2 separate regions of the Homo sapiens genome follow, and region 1 is linked to region 2. The links are contacts of gene promoters, found by promoter capture Hi-C in human tissues and cell types (Jung and others, 2019). All regions are on one chromosome and are shown on one strand. Each heading gives the region's core, a stretch centred on a gene start or on the middle of the fragment in contact. The rest is flanking DNA. Distances are from core to core; before and after follow the strand shown.

Region 1 (2,700 bases), core at 47-2,546, 400 kb before region 2:
ACCTATATATGGATACATACACAGATATGCACACATACACACATACATGTATATACATACATGTATATATGCAATATATGTGTGCATATCTCACACATATATATTGCATATATCCATATATATCCATATGTGTATATGTGTAATGTATCTGTGAGAGATATATATACATCTCCCTATACATCTGCCTGGAATAGAGCCTGGCATATAGTGAGACATAACAAATGTTAGCTATTCATATTATTATTGTATTACAGTTGTCATTTACTCTACTTTGATAACCTTCATCTACCAGTCCAGTAAAGCAAATCTACCTTCTGTCCTGTTACATTTCCAGCCAAGCTGCTGTGTACCCTCCTCAATTATTTACATACACATCTATATAAATACTCGAAATGCCTCACCCTTGCTTTCTGTTTATCCTACTCATTCATCAAGGCTTTACTCAAATCCTACATCCTTCCTAAAGCCTACTATTTTGGTATAATTAACGCTTTTCTTCTAAACTCTTGCTGAACTTTATTCAATATAGTTTATTTTTATTTTTATTTTTATGTTTGAGATGGAGTCTTGCTCTGTTGCCCAGGCTGGAGTGCAGTGGCTCAATCTCAGTTCACTGCAACCTCTGCCTCCAGGTTCAAGCGATTCTCCTGCCTCAGCCCCCCAAGTAGCTGGGATTACAGGCATCCACTATCATGCCCGGCTGATTTTTGTATTTTTGTAGAGACAGAGTTTCACCATGTTGGTCAGGCTGGTCTTGAACTCCTGACCTCAGGTGATCCACCCACCTCAGCCTCCCAAAGTGCTGGGATTACAGGTATGAGCCACCGCACCGGCCTCAATATAGTTTATTAAACTCCTCAAATTGTTTCTTGGTTTCAAATTTAATCCCTCATATACAGTTATCTCTATTGTACACCATCCTTCTCCACCCTCCATTTCAATGCTCTATCCAGTGTTAGGAACATTATGAGTATTCAATAGATTCTGATATTCTGATGTTAAAATGTAAGAATCCTTTCATTACATTTTAGACTTTTAAAATACTCTGTAATCCTCAAATCCATATGCATACATACATTCAACCTATAAGACATAGAAATAGGTAAAAGGAAACATATATACATAAATCTTCCTTGAGATCCAGAGGTAATTGTAAGTCAGAGATTGGGGTGCTGAATTGGGACTGTGATGCTAGGCTCTCTAGACTTTCACTGAGGCTAAGCGAATCATCTTCAAATGCCTCATTGGTGCTGCAAGTCTGTGACACAATTTAGAGGGTGATTATTTGCCTCACAGAAACACTTTAAAATTCCTTTAAGTTACTTCTTTATTCATTGGATATGCTTATTTATAGACCCTTAAATTATCATTTACCAAGGCTGGAGCAAGAGAAACTTCCAGCAAAACTGTTATTTCCAATTTGAGAGATCTAGCAATGGAGGAAAAATATTTCTGAAATCTTACTATGTCAGTGAGAAATTTACTGAAATAGCTTACACAGTATAACTTAGGGAACACATCTATTGAATAAGACTAGATTGACATGTATGGATAAAGCCACATTACAGATAAAGAATTCAGATTGGGGTAATCACTTGCTCAATAGCATCCAACCAACAAACCCTGTATTAAGGACTCATGCCCTGTCCTTGTTTAGTGTTCTTTCCGGAAGACCATACTGTATAGTACCAAGGAAGTGCCATATATAGAGGTTATTACTATCTGGGTGGTCAGGAGTCCTTAGTCCTAGTATGTGCTTCAGCACAGTTAACTATACCCTGATACATTAAAAACCATGTATCTTTGCCTTCTATGGAATAAGAATGTTAGACTAGATTAGATCTCTCTAAGCTCTAAAAATGTATGATTAAATTACTTAATATGCTTAATGTGCTTGGTGACTGTTTTTAAACTTGAGATGAGCCGTTAAACTTTTTCAGACTAAAATTTTAAAAATCCAGTATAAAACTTTTTGGATCACCTAACTCCTTAATTCTTGCTAGAGTTCTGCACAGTGGGTATCCTTCTAGCCTTAGTGTAACTCTTGGCATTATATAGCTTGTTTTCCTTATCCAAATGACATTAAGTCCTTTGAGTCACATTGGAGGTTCTGCTCTCAGACCTGAGCCCTTGACTTCTAGTTGTGCTAAACTTGTCCTACCAGTGATGCAGCTAGTAGTACAAACAAAAGCAATCACAGATTTCAGTCGTAAAAACAAGAACAGCTGAAATACAAGCTGTCCATTTACTTAAAACCTTTTATAGGCTTTACTAGAACATAAAGTTCATTAACTTTTTTTGGCAGCATTAATAAAGAGGTCAAAAAAATGAAAAAAGAGCAAACTCCTCTTGGAATTTGAGTGAAATTATAATTTAATGAAAGTGAATGCCTCATAATTTTTTTTTTTTTTTTTTGAGATGGAGTCTTGCTCTGTCGCCCAGGCTGGAGTGCAGTGGCACAGTCTTGGCTCACTGTAAGCTCCGCCTCCCGAGTTCCCGCCATTCTCCCGCCTCAGCCTCCCAAGTAGCTGGGAATACAGGTGCCTGCCACCACGCCCGGCTAATTTTTTGTATTTTTAGTAGAGACAGGGTTTCACTGTGTTAGCCAGGATGGCTCGATTTCCTGACCTTGTGATCCACCCGCCTCCGCCTCCCAAAGTGCTGGGATTACAGGCGTGAGCCACGGTGCCCGGCCTCAAA
Region 2 (2,879 bases), core at 92-2,591:
AGTTAATTAGGTCGTTGCGAATAAATAAGATGCTTTCAATACAGAGAGAAAGGATGAGGCGGGGCAACAAGCACAAGCATTTTGAGACCCACAGGATTGGGAAATGATGCAGGAACAACTGACCTGGCCATTTTTCTTTCTTTCTTTCTTTTCTTGGAAGCACATATGTTTATTGGTTTTTTAATCTGTGAACCAATAGGTCATTTATAAATGGATGTGCAAATCTGAAATCAAAATATCTGCAGTCAATTCAATTAGATAATTTTTGAAATCTATTTATTTTTAATATACTTTAAGTTCTAGGGTACATGTGCACAACGTGCAGATTTGTTACCTATGTATAGATATGCCATGTTGGTGTGCTGCACACATTAACTCGTCATTTACATTAAGTATATCTCCTAATGCTATCCCTCCCCCCTCCCCCCACCCCACGACAGGCCCCGGTGTGTGGTGTTCCCCACCCTGTGTCCAAGTGTTCTCATTGTTCAATTCCCACCTATGAGTGAGAACATGCGGTGTTTGGTTTTCTGTCCTTGCGATAGTTTGCTCAGAATGACGGTTTCCAGCTTCATCCGTGTCCCTACAAAGGACATGAACTCATCCTTTTTTATGGCTGCATAGTATTCCATGGTATATATGTGCCACATTTTCTTAATCCAGTCTATCATTGATGGACATTTGCATTGGTTCCAAGTCTTTGGTATTCTGAATAGTGCCACAATAAACATACATGTGCATGTGTCTTTATAGCAGCATGATTTATAATCCTTTGGGTATATACCCAGTAATGGGATGGCTGATGACCTGGCCATTTTTCTATTTACATAGTGCTTGCCCGCCACTGAGGTGCTTCTGTGACACCTGAGAGAGATAGAAATACGTTCCTCGTTGCTATGTCCTCCAGAGGACTCTGGAATGACCAATTATTACTAATATTTTAAGTGTTTTTTTAGGAGATTTTCTGCAGCACTCTGAGTGTCTCTTCCCAAACACTTCGGTTACTGTTTATTCACCTGCTGAGATCTGGTCTCTTATTCACTCTCATTGCCTTAAGAAATGGTACAGAAATGTATTCATTAACATTTCAGATTTGTATATGCGGTAGCGAGAAATAATTCCCTTTCTTGTGTGTCGTGATTTGCCTTTCTTGTCAGCCTAAGCTCAGGAAGGTGTCTGTGAGAACTTCGCTCAGCCCAAGATCCCTTTCCCTTCCCGTCACATCTGTTAGCGCACAAGATTTCTTCGTCTGTCTCCAAAGGTTTCTGAAGCCCCACCCTTTGCCCACGCACGGTGCCAAGGAGACTGTGCCCTGCCTTGACAACAGTTGCTAAGGGGCGGAGACTTCGGCTCGGTTCCCGAGACGGAATACCCAGGAGTCGAGTACTTGGGCGCATGCGGCAACCGTATCTCAGTTCTCGCGAGGTTTCGTCTTCCCGGAAGCGTTGGAGGACATTCCCTGTTGACTGCGTCGCGATGTGTGGCGACTGTGTGGAGAAGGAATATCCCAACCGGGTGAGCGACTGGGCGCTCCCTTGGCCCGCGGGCGGCCCCCGAGGTGTCTCATATCCAAGGCTGGCCTTCCCAGAGAGGCCGTACGTGGGGCGGACTCGGCCGCACTGCCGGTCCCGGTGACCCAGTAGCGGTATTTAGGCACACCAGGGATGGCCTGTGGCGGTCTGCACCTCTGGTACCCGCCCTGGCGGCTGACCTCAGTTGTAGTGGCCGTTCTCTTGAGCTCCAAGGAGCAACAGAGGAACCCCACCACCACCACAACCCCCGTCGACAACCGAGGGACTCCCCCACCCCCACTTCCGGTCTCATCCTCAAGCTCGATTTGATGAAGTACAATTTTCTTACCGAATTCTAGCGCTGGAGGGGACCTCTGTGGTCATCTGTTCTAACACTTTTGCAGATGAAGAAACCGATGCCCAGAGAGGGGAAATCACTTGCCCAAGTTCACATTCTAGTTGCATGGATGAGAGCCAGGACTAGAATTTAGGTTTCCTGCCTGTTACCGCCTTCTGAATCTCAGTTACTTTCAGGTTCAGGAGTTTGCAAAGCTTGTCTATTCTCATTCATTCAAGGCATCCTTGTTGAACATTTATATATGTGTAGTTAGATTACTTTGCTAGGCCAGAAAGGGATTATTTCTCCTCTCTTTGAGACAGGGTGCTGCTGTTGCCCAGGCTGGTCTCAAATTCCTGGGATCAAGTGATCCTCCCGCCTTGGCCTCCGAAAGTGCTGGGATTACTGGCATGAGCCACCACGTCCAGCTGGATTATTTGTTTCAGAGAAGAAATTAAAAGGCACCTTTGGTGCTGCCTAACAGCTTACAGTTTTGGGGAGTATGTGACTAACAAAAAATGAGTAGCTCAGTTCAGAAATGCTATTCAAGTTTAGGGAAAGGGGAGGGCAATAGGGGATAGTGCTGTTCTCCCCTGAGAAAAGGTGGACATCATCTAAGACTTGAAGGACAGTTGTAATTAGGGTAGAAAAGAAGGTGAGGAGCTGGAGGATGGGGGAAAATTACAGAAATGGAATTTGTGCATTGGTTGGGAAGGAGGGAGAAAGTCTCTGTAGTTCCTTATGTCTTAGTATCTTATGGGTAATACTTAGGCTTTTGAGTAGCATGTATAACAGTATGAATTCTCCTGTAGTACAACTACTTTGAAAAAGCGGGTGAGCCTTATAAAATACAGACATGACCCAGTGATTCCCATTCTAGAAAAATGCATGTGTATATGCTTCTGAAGACTTTTATAAATAAGTGTTCATAACAGCATTATTTTTGTAGTAGATTGGAAAAGTAACTGATACATTCATTAGAATGGAACACCATTAATGAATGAGGAATGGAAGTGAATGAATTAGAGCAG

Evidence for each region. The method cuts DNA at HindIII sites, captures the fragments that hold promoters and counts their contacts. A contact is called where the count stands out against the background at its distance.
Region 1: a fragment that was not itself captured here is called in contact with the fragment with the promoter of CHURC1-FNTB in region 2 in 1 of the 25 tissues and cell types used here (heart left ventricle).

The regions. Positions count from the first base shown.
Region 1 is chr14:64,513,124-64,515,823 of GRCh38, forward strand. The region is part of intron 1 of ZBTB1 (zinc finger and BTB domain containing 1); the gene reads left to right. HSPA2-AS1 (HSPA2 and ZBTB1 antisense RNA 1) reads right to left here. Exons shown (of 4, transcript NR_110550.1): 4 at 1,028-1,258. Among named protein-coding and RNA genes, the nearest start is that of ZBTB1, 9.7 kb to the left of the region's middle. The HindIII fragment of the contact is 3,390 bases long and covers 1-2,700 here.
Region 2 is chr14:64,913,020-64,915,898 of GRCh38, forward strand. It overlaps CHURC1-FNTB (CHURC1-FNTB readthrough), which reads left to right and starts at 1,342. Exons shown (of 14, transcript NM_001202559.1): 1 at 1,342-1,515. The coding sequence starts at 1,396. CHURC1 (churchill domain containing 1) reads left to right here and starts at 1,436. Exons shown (of 4, transcript NM_001386928.1): 1 at 1,436-1,515. The coding sequence starts at 1,477. RefSeq lists enhancers at 1,236-1,285, 1,436-1,705. The HindIII fragment of the contact is 18,830 bases long and covers 1-2,879 here.